Linked DNA regions of Homo sapiens: regions 1 and 3 are each linked to region 2. The links are contacts of gene promoters, found by promoter capture Hi-C in blood cells and fetal thymus (Javierre and others, 2016). All regions are on one chromosome and are shown on one strand. Each heading gives the region's core, a stretch centred on a gene start or on the middle of the fragment in contact. The rest is flanking DNA. Distances are from core to core; before and after follow the strand shown. Region 1 overlaps LOC105370050 (a long non-coding RNA gene). Region 2 holds the start of AACS (acetoacetyl-CoA synthetase). Region 3 holds the start of TRA-TGC3-2 (tRNA-Ala (anticodon TGC) 3-2).

What was found. The method cuts DNA at HindIII sites, captures the fragments that hold promoters and counts their contacts. A CHiCAGO score of 5 or more calls a contact.
Region 1: a contact is called between a fragment that was not itself captured here and the fragment with the promoter of AACS in region 2, in 1 of 17 cell types (neutrophils). The highest score is 5.6, in neutrophils.
Region 3: a contact is called between a fragment that was not itself captured here and the fragment with the promoter of AACS in region 2, in 1 of 17 cell types (neutrophils). The highest score is 5.8, in neutrophils.

The regions. Positions count from the first base shown.
Region 1 is chr12:124,865,858-124,868,883 of GRCh38, reverse strand. LOC105370050 (a long non-coding RNA gene) reads right to left here. Exons shown (of 3, transcript XR_945488.3): 2 at 2,208-2,286. Among named protein-coding and RNA genes, the nearest start is that of SCARB1, 3.5 kb to the right of the region's middle. RefSeq lists enhancers at 1,188-2,387, 2,816-2,985. The HindIII fragment of the contact is 4,035 bases long and covers 1-3,026 here.
Region 2 is chr12:125,063,419-125,066,706 of GRCh38, reverse strand. AACS (acetoacetyl-CoA synthetase) reads right to left here and starts at 1,272. Exons shown (of 18, transcript NM_023928.5): 1 at 990-1,272. The coding sequence starts at 1,122. LOC105370052 (a long non-coding RNA gene) reads left to right here. Exons shown (of 4, transcript XR_001749365.2): 3 at 1,597-1,704. RefSeq lists a silencer at 1,012-1,631. The HindIII fragment of the contact is 11,218 bases long and covers 1-3,288 here.
Region 3 is chr12:124,919,544-124,922,697 of GRCh38, reverse strand. It overlaps TRA-TGC3-2 (tRNA-Ala (anticodon TGC) 3-2), which reads left to right and starts at 872; the gene lies at 872-943. RefSeq lists enhancers at 1,077-1,396, 963-1,641, 1,477-1,666 and a cis regulatory region at 1,251-1,421. The HindIII fragment of the contact is 6,001 bases long and covers 1-3,154 here.

The DNA.
Region 1 (3,026 bases), core at 473-2,972, 200 kb after region 2:
ATGGCATTGGAGCAAGGACCTGAAGGAAGGGAGGGTGAGTCTCCTGGGTGTTAGGGAGAGGAGCATTCCAGGAGGGGACCAGGGAGTGCAAAGGTTCTGGGGCACGAGCCGGGCAACAGGTGGAGGAGCTCCAGGGAGGAGGATGTGGCTGGAGCAGAGTGGGCAAGGAGAGGGAGGGGGATGAGGTCAGGGAGATGTGCCCATCTGGGTGCGTTTTGACTTTGTCTCTCTAGTATGAGATGTGGTGATCTTGTGGGCCATGGTGAGGGCTTTGGCTTTTATGCTGAATGAGGTGGGAGCCACGGAAAGGTTTCTTTCTTTTTGTTTTCTTGAGAGACAGGGTCTCACTGTGTTGCCCAGGCTGGAGTGCAGTGACACAATCACAGCTCACTCACTGCAGCCTCGACTTCCTGGGCTCACGTGATTCTCCCACCTCAGCCTCCTCAGTAGCTGAAACTAGAGGTGTGTGCCACTTTACCTGGCTAACTTTTTATTTTTTGTAGAGATGGTGTCTGGCTGTGTTGCCCAGGCTGATCTCGAACTCCTGGCCTCAAGGGATCCTCCTGCCTCAGCCTCCAAAAGCACTGGGATTATAGGCATGGGCCACCATGCCTGGCCATTTCTTTAAAATAACAGTTTTCATTGAGATATAATTTGCATATCATACATTCACCCATTTAAAGTATATAATTTGGCCAGGCATGATGGCTCACACTTGTAATCCCAGCGCTTTGGGAGGCCAGGGTGGGAGGATGACCAGAATTTTGAGAGCAGCCTGGGCAACAAAGTGAGACCCTGTCTCAACAAAAATGAAAACATCAGGTGTACATAGTGGCATATACTTGTTGTCCAAGCTAGTCAGGAGGCCGAGGCGGGAGGATGGTTTGAACCCAAGACTTCAAGACTGCACTCCAGCCTGGGTGACAGAGTGAGACCCTGTCTCTTGAAAAAAAGAAAAAGTAAATAAAGTGTGTAATTTGATGGTTTTTTGTATATTCACGGAGTTGTGCAACCATCATTACCATCACTTTTACCGTCACTTTTAGAACATTTTCACCACTCCAAGATGAAACCCCAAACCTGTAGCAGTCACTCCTCATTCTCCCCAGCCCCTGGCAACCACTGGTCTACTTTTTGTCCCCATAGATGTGCCTACTATGGACATTTTATATAAGCAGAATCATACATGTGGCCTTTGTGTCTGGCTTCTTTCACTTATCAATGTTTTCAAGGTTCATCCATGGTGTAGCACGCGTCAGCCCTTCATTCCTTTTTATGCTGAGTCATATTCCAGTGCGTGGTTATGCCACATTTTATTTACCTATTCACCAGCTGATGGGGGTGTGGGTTATTTTCACTGCTTGGCTGCTGTGAACATTTGTGTCCAGGCTTCCGTGTGGACATGCTCTTTCCTTTCTCCTGGGCATATACCCAGGAGTGGAACTGCTGGGTCTTAGGGGACCCCTATGTTTACCTTTTGAGGCTGCACCATTTTACAATCCCACAAGCACCTCAAGAGGCTTCCAACTCCTCCAGGTCTTTGCCTGCAGTCATTCTCCGTCTTTGATCACGAAAGGACTCTGAGCAGAGGAGGAAAAGCATCTGACTTGATTTTCCAGGAGCCCTGTGACACCATGTTGATCATATTTTGTTATCAGCACTCTTTCTTTTCTTCTGTATCTTCGACTTTCCCCAGGGCAAGACCTCTCTCTCAAACATGACGAAGTCTTTTTTTCCCTTCTTAAGCTGCCCTCCCTGCCACCGGAAGTGACTCCCCTCAGCAAGGCCAAGGTGGCTCACGTGTCCCATCACCCTTTCATCTCTGCCCTTCTCTCTCGAGTGACAGCATGGCGTGACATGAGGGCTCTCCAGCCATGGCCTTGCAGCCCTCTTGGGTAAGCATCACGTACATTTGGACCTTGAAGACTTGGTCATGAATCAGAGTTAGATTGGGTGAGATGGTCAAGGCAGGTCAGTATCAAGGAAGTGGAGGAGGGTGTCAGGGCCAGGCAGACCGCAGATTTTAGTTAACTGGCTAATTTCCGAGAACTACAAAAGTCATTAAAAAAAAAGGCAACTGCATAGCTGAAGGCTGTTGAAGGCCTTAAGGAATTCAATGAAGTGATATTAATTAATTAATCAATCGATCAGTTACTTGATTAATTAATGAGTTAATTAGCTGATTGAGTAAAGTATTTATTGAGTACCTGCTATGTGCCAGGCATTTTTCCAGGTGCTGGAGATACATCGATAAGCAAAACAGGGTCAGCTTCTGTCTCTCGGGAGCTGGAGGAGATGAACAAGGAAACAGATAAGACCATTTCACACAAAGCAAGGTGGCCTGACAGAGTGGGCTGGGACTCCTGTTTTCAACAGATGCAACAGCAAAGGCTTCTCTGAGGAGTGGGTTTCAGCTGAGCCCAGAAGAGGAGAGTGGGGAGCCATGGAAGGATCTAGGGGAAGCGTATCCTAGACAGAGGAACAGGAAGTGCAAAGTTCCTGACACAAGAAAAAGCTGGGGATGCTCAATGAACTGAAACAATGGGGGAGAGGGCAGGAGATGGAGGCAGAGAGATGGGCAGGCGCCAGTTCATGTGGGTCCGGAAAATAACGACGACACTCCCCAGCTCAGTTGCACTGACACATTCCAGGGACTGTTCTAAGCACTGGCACATTTTTTGACTTGTTTAATCCTCATGGTAGCCCTTGGAAAGGGGCTCTTCTAATCCCCGTTTCGTAGATGAGGAGACTGAGGCACAGAAAGGCCCAAACCACTTGCCCCAGGACTCCAATGTGGGAAACCCCAGAGCCTGGATTTCTCTGAACCTGTCCCCCGGGGCTACCACAGTCTCACCTCAGCCACTCTGACCTCCCTCAGGAGTTGGGCCCTGCCCCTTGGGGCACTGGACCATATTCGGCCTCCTTAGAGGAAGGCAGTGCCAGGCAAAGCTGTCTAACGAGAACATAGCAGGTGCTCTGTAAATATTGGTTCAGGCGAAGACATGTTGCTTAAGGATGGCCCTGCG
Region 2 (3,288 bases), core at 23-2,522:
GAGGCCAAGGCGATCGGATCACCTGAGGTCAGGAGTTCGAGACCAGCCTGACCAACATGGAGAAACTCCGTCTCTACTAAAAATACAAAATTAGCCAGGCGTGGTGGTGTATGCCTGTAATCCCAGCTACTCGGGAGGCTGAGGCAGGAGAATCACTTGAACCCGGGAGGCGGAGGTTGCAGTGTGCCGAGATCTCGCCATTGCACTCCAGCCTGGGCAACGAGAGAGAAACTGTCTCAAAAAAAAAAAAAAAAAATCCCCTAGGAATACCTAGGGGAGGCAGGGTGGAGGGGTGGAGCTGGTAGTTGGGCAAGCCAGCTAGAGCTCAGGAAGAGCACCCGGAGCGGTTACCCCACGGAGAAGGAGCCTTTGCCCCACCCGCACCGAGAGAGGCAGTTTCTGAGGTTCAAGGTGATGGGTGGAAAGAGAGTCTTTTACTAGGTTCTGTTTGGGGGCTGGGAGTGTAGACACGTGGACAGGGCCTCCTGCCTGACCATCCTGCTAGGTGCTGGCCTCCAGCAGGGGCAGCTGGAGATGAGGGAGGTCAGGGGGACAGAGTGCACGGCACTGGGGACTGGCAAGGGACCCCCACAAACAGAGGAAGAGCTGCAAGTCAAAAAGGCCCTATGTCCGGGGGAAGCCCCCACAGGCCGGAGGTCAAGACTCCAGGGAGCACCTCACAGGTAGGAAAGCCTAGCAAGGGGTCACACGGTCAACAGGCAGCTGGCCCTCCCGAGGGGTGACACTCCCGGGGAGAGGGTGACCCCCACATGCAGAGGAGACGCTGCAGAGTCAGGAAGTGCCAGGAGGTGCTGTGGAGGGGTGATGTTCCCCAAGACTGGGGGGAACCCCGCAGTCAGAAGGCCTCCCCGCCATCAAGTGGCTCCTCCAGCCCCAGAAGCGTGAAACTAGCCATGGGGAGACCACCCAACCACCCTGCACGGCTCCCGCCCATCCCCCGCAGGCCCGGCCGCGCGCCCGACTCTCACCCAGCGCCAGGCCGCAGGCGGCGCCCACAGCCGCCCGGAAGCGGTCCATCTGCGTGTTCTTCTTACTGTCAGGCTCCCACATCACCTGGCACTCCAGGATCTCCTCCCGACCGGGGCGCTCCTCCTTGGACATGGCGGCGGCGGGCGGCCGGGGCTGCGACGAGGGCTGGGGACCAGGGGCCGGGGCTGAGGCGAGGGCCGGGGACCTGGGACCGGAGGAAGCGACGGTCAGGAGCGCCTGGCGGGCTGGGTCAGCGACGGCGGCGGCGGGGAACAAGGGACTGAACGGCCGCCGCCGCCTCCTGCGGGCCGCTTGGCCCAGGCCCCGCCCCGCAGGCCCCGCCTCGAATCCCCGCCCCCTTCCAGGCCCCGCCCTCCCGCCTGTAACCCTCCGCTGAGTGCAGCGCCGCTCAAAGGAGTGCTCGCAGCCGCCGGCTCCAGCGCCCGCGGCCGGGGGGCGTGGGGGTGAGGGGCGCTCACGAGCCTTGGCCCCAGCTCCCCGACCTCACCTGGAGCTGGAGGGCGTTAGGGCAGCCGGAGAAGCCAGGCGTCCGAGCCCGCTGTTTCCTACACGTGTACATCATTCATTCGCTATTTCTTCCTGCAGGTCTTTACTGAGAGCCTGCGGCATTCGGAGGACTTTGGGAGCTTTGCGGATACAGCAGCGAACAAAACAAAATTCTTGTTCTCTGTCAACAGGAGAGGAGGGGTACAGGTGTGAGGAAGACGGGAGACGATTAACAAATAAGTACATCGTGTACATACACAAGATAATGTCATAGTATAATACAATAATATACATAGTATGCCAATGGGTATCAAAATACACATTTGTGAAAGGAAAATAAATCTTGGGGCCCCACTACTAAGCTAAAGGGAAAAGAAAAGCTGGGAACTGCTTAGGGCTAACCTGCCTCCATTCTATTCAAAGTCACCCCTCTGCTGAGTTAAATGCACACCTGATTGCCTCCTTTGCAGAGGCTAATTGAAAACTCAAAAGAATGCAGCCATTTGTCCCTTATCTACCTATGACCTGGAAGGCCCCCTCCCCGCCTTAGCTTTTTTTTTTTTTTTGAGTCTCACTCAGTCGCCCAGGCTGGAGTGCAATGTCCCAATCTCAGCTCACTGTAACCTCTGCTTCCCAGGTTCAAGCGATTCTCCTGCCTCAGCCTCCTGAGTAGCTGGGATTACAGGCACACGCCATCATGCCCAGCTAATTTTTCGTGTTTTTTTTTTTGTTGTTGTTGTTGTTTGTTTTGTTTTTTTGAGACGAAGTTTCGCTCTTGTTACCCAGGCTGGAGTGCAATTGCGAGATCTCGGCACACGGCAACCTCCATCTCCCAGGTTAAAGCAATTCTCCTGCCTCAGCCTCTCGAGTACCTGGGATTACAGGCATGTGCCACCACGCCTGGCTAATTTTGTATTTTTAGTACAGACAGGGTTTTTCCATGTTGGTCAGGCTGGTCTCCAACTCCCGGCCTCAGGTGATCCGCCCGCCTCAGCCTCCCAAAGTGCTGGAATTACAGGCGTGAGCTACCGAGCCCGGCTCATTTTTGCATTTTTGTAGAGACGGGATTTCACCATGTTGGCCAGGCTGGTCTTGAAGTCCTGACCTCAGGTGATCCACCCGCCTCGGCCTCCCAAAGTGCTGGGATTACAAGAGTGAGCCCAGGTCTGAGAGCACCCCCTCCAGAGCCTCCCTGATCTCCCAAAATTTGGTGGAGATCTAAAGTTTATTTTGCTGTACAACTCTTTTCTTTGCAGTTTTACTTGCTTCCAACAAGGAAGGCAAGGTTTCCTGCTTCCATGACAATGGAAGGCAGGTAACTCCTTTATGGAGTTTGAGCTCGCTTCCAACAGGGAAGATGAGGTCTTTTTTCCTGCTTCTAGAATGGTAGAGAGCAGTCTACAGCCTAAGACCCATCCCTAGGTAAGTAACTGAATTGGGGTTTGTCTTGGCTAAAGTTAAGGTTAACAGCCAGCTGGTCTTAATGTCAGAGGCATTTGAACCAGAGCAACTCCATCTTGAGTGGGGGCTGGGTAAAATGAGGCTGAGATCTACTAGGCTCCATTCCCAGACAGTGAAGGCATTCTAAGTCACAGGATGAGACAGGAGGTCGGCACAAAATACAAGTCATAAACACCTTGCTGATAAAACACGCTGCAGTAAAAAAGCCGGCTAAATCCTACCAAAACCAAGGTGGTGATGAGAGTGACCTCTGCTTGACTTCACTACTACACTCCCATCAGCACCATGACAGTTTACAAATGCCATGGCAATGTCAGGAAGTTACTCTAT
Region 3 (3,154 bases), core at 256-2,755, 140 kb after region 2:
CGTGGTGGTGCACGCCTGTAGTCCCAGCTACTCGGGAGGCTGAGGCAGGAGAATCGCTTGAACCCAGGAGGCGGAGGTTGCAGTGAGCCCAGATCATGCCACTGCACTCCAGCCTGGGCGACAGAGCAAAACTCTGTCTCAAAACAAACCAACCAACCAAAAACTAAAAGCCTCTCGCACTCCCGTGTGTATTGCAGCTTTATTCATAAGTGCCTAGATGTGTCCGTCAACAGATACATGGATAGAGAAAATGTGTACATACGCAATAGAATACTATTCGACCTTAAAAAAATACAAAACAAAATGAAATCCTGTCATTTTTCCTCTACGAAACAAAAATAAAAACATGGCTAAGTTTGGGCGACATTACATAAAGTGAAATAAACCGGGCACAGAAAGATAAATACTGCATGATCTCACTCACGTGCGGAAGCTGAAATAGTTGGTCTCACAGAGAGAATAGTGGTTACTGCAGGTAGTGAAGGTGGGGGGAGGTGGGATAGCCAAAGGGGGGTTACTGGATACAAAAGTACAGCTGAATAGGAGGAATAAGTTCCAGTGTCCCTATAGAGTGAATACAACAACTTATTGTACGTTTTCAAATAGCTGGAAGCGTGGATTTTTAATGTCTCCCAGCACAGAGAAATGATACATGTTTGAAGGGATGGATGTGGTCATTGCCCTGATTTGAACATTACAAATTGTGTACATAGATCACAACATCACACCACACCTCATAAATGTGCACAATTGTTATGCGTCCAAACAATAATAAAAACCAAAAATAAAAATGAAACACGTGGAAACAGGAAAAACGCCTTTAAGAATAGAGTATAGCAAGGACTTCCAAAAGCAAGTACAGGAAAGGGAGGGGGATGTAGCTCAGTGGTAGAGCGCATGCTTTGCATGTATGAGGCCCCGGGTTCGATCCCCGGCATCTCCATTGTAGTTTTGTTGCTTTCTGTATTCGTTTTGGTCCGTGGTTCTTTATCATTAAAGTGCCATGGATGTGATTATCATAAGCATTGTGATTCCAGGCACTACTTGGAGCTCAGATTCTCACACCAGGTGTGATCTTCCCATTCTGAAATCTCTAATGTTTCAAATGCACATGAGTTAGAAGAGGCTGATGGGAGTAATCAGCAGAAAAGTGTTAAGGCAAAACCTGACTTGATGACTGAAACCACAGCAAAAGTGAGCAGGATGATCATTTGGGGAGTGTACACCACATCTCGTGCCACCATGATTGTACTGCACTGGCCTCGAGGGCTGTTGACGCATTCTTGGCCATCAGAGGGCAAGTGTGTAAGTTGCTGGAAGGTCTGGGCCCCCCTGTTTGCCATCTCACTCCTCCTCTGCACTGCCACGAACCACCTCATTTGCATGGGAGGAACCCAGAAGCAAACTCACATCCCAGCGGGGCTTTGCTCTCTGCTTCCTCAGCAACACGTCTCCACGGCTGTAATGCAAGTGCAATTTACATTTATATTCATACACTGTGTTCCGGGGTGAGCAGGCCTATGCAAACCTACCCCAAAGGCCAAGGGAGCTGAGAGGCCAAAGAAAGGGGTTGACAAACCCAGTTTCTCAGGAAAAAACATTTATTAGGGACTTACCAACAGAAGCCATAGTCTCAGGGTGGTCATCAGAGGATATAAGGTTTGCTGCGCCATAACCCCCGGCCCAGGGCTTCCATACCATAGGGAAGGAATATATGTAGGACAATTGAAGTTGACCCCTCAAGCAAGGCAAGAATGTTATGTGAATCCGCATAAGGGAAGGATTTATGATCTAGGTTGTTCTGATCTAAGGGCAGAATTTATGGTAACAGTAAAGTAGAAATCTTAGAGACCTTCCTGGAAGAGGCATTAATCGGAAGTTATCTTGGTGGATTAGCAACCAAGATGGAGTTGCTTTCACCTCCACTGTGTTTCTGTGTTTTATCACTGAAAGCAAAAGATGGTGGCTCAGGCCTGTAATCCCAGCACTTTGGGAGGCATGAGGCAGGAGAATTGCTTGAGGCCAGGAGTTTGAAAGCAGCCTGGGCAACAAAGGGAGACCTTGGCTCGGAAAGGAAAGGAAAGGAAAGGAAGGGGAAGGGGAGGGAAAGGGGAAGGGGAGGGGAGGGGAGATTGATTTACTTGCATGAATGATCTTTAGGCAAAAATAAATACATAAAAATAAATTATATTTTTTAAAGTTTAACCAGTTCCCAGCTCTCTAAATAATAATAAGAATGAAAGAAGGGATTCGGCTGCATTCTGTGGTACAGTTCTTTGCAATTATAATGAATTCCTCACCTGTCAGCCCCTTTCTTTCATTTGACTTGACTTCATGTTTTAAATGGTAAAAGCGTCTAATCCTAGATCTAGAGCTTTCATTTTTGAGATGAAGAAAATGAAACTTGCGAACTGACTCACCAGTTAGGTGGTGACGCATTGGTGACAGCTTGTTTCTAATGAGCTTCAGGAAAGGTTATTTCTCCCTAAATGTCAACAAGGTTTTAGGGGAAAATCATTGAAGATAATTTCTGAAGTCATCAGGCCTAACACAAAACTTACATGCTTCTGTAACTGCCCAACAGTTTCTCCTTGCCCGCTGCCTAGACAGAGCCCATTTATTAGGACAGGGAAACTGTGATCCGCCCACCTCAGCCTCCCGAAGTGCTGGGATTACAGGCGCAAGCCACCTCGCCCTGCCATAATAGAGAACGTTTAATTCACACACAGCTGGCAGTGTGGGAGACGGGAGTTTTACTATTACTCAAATCAGTCTCCCTGAAAACTCAGGGATTGGAGTTTTGAAGGATAATTTGGTGTGTAGGGAGGTCGGGAAATCGGGAGTACTGATTGGTTGGGTCGGAGATGAAATCACAGGGAGTCGAAGCTGTCCCTTTGCCCTGAGTCAGTTCCTAGGTGGGGGCCACAAGACCAGATGAGCCAGTTTATCAATCTGGGTGGTGTCAGTCGGCCCACTGAGTGCAGAGTATGCAAAATATCTCAAGCACTGGTCTTAGGTTTTACAATAGTGATGTTATCCTCAGGAGCAATTTCAGCATGGACAGAATCTTGCAGTCTCCAGCTGCGTGACTCCTAAACCATAATTTGTAATCTTGTGGCCAATTTGTTAGTCCTGCAAAGCAGTCTAGTGCGCA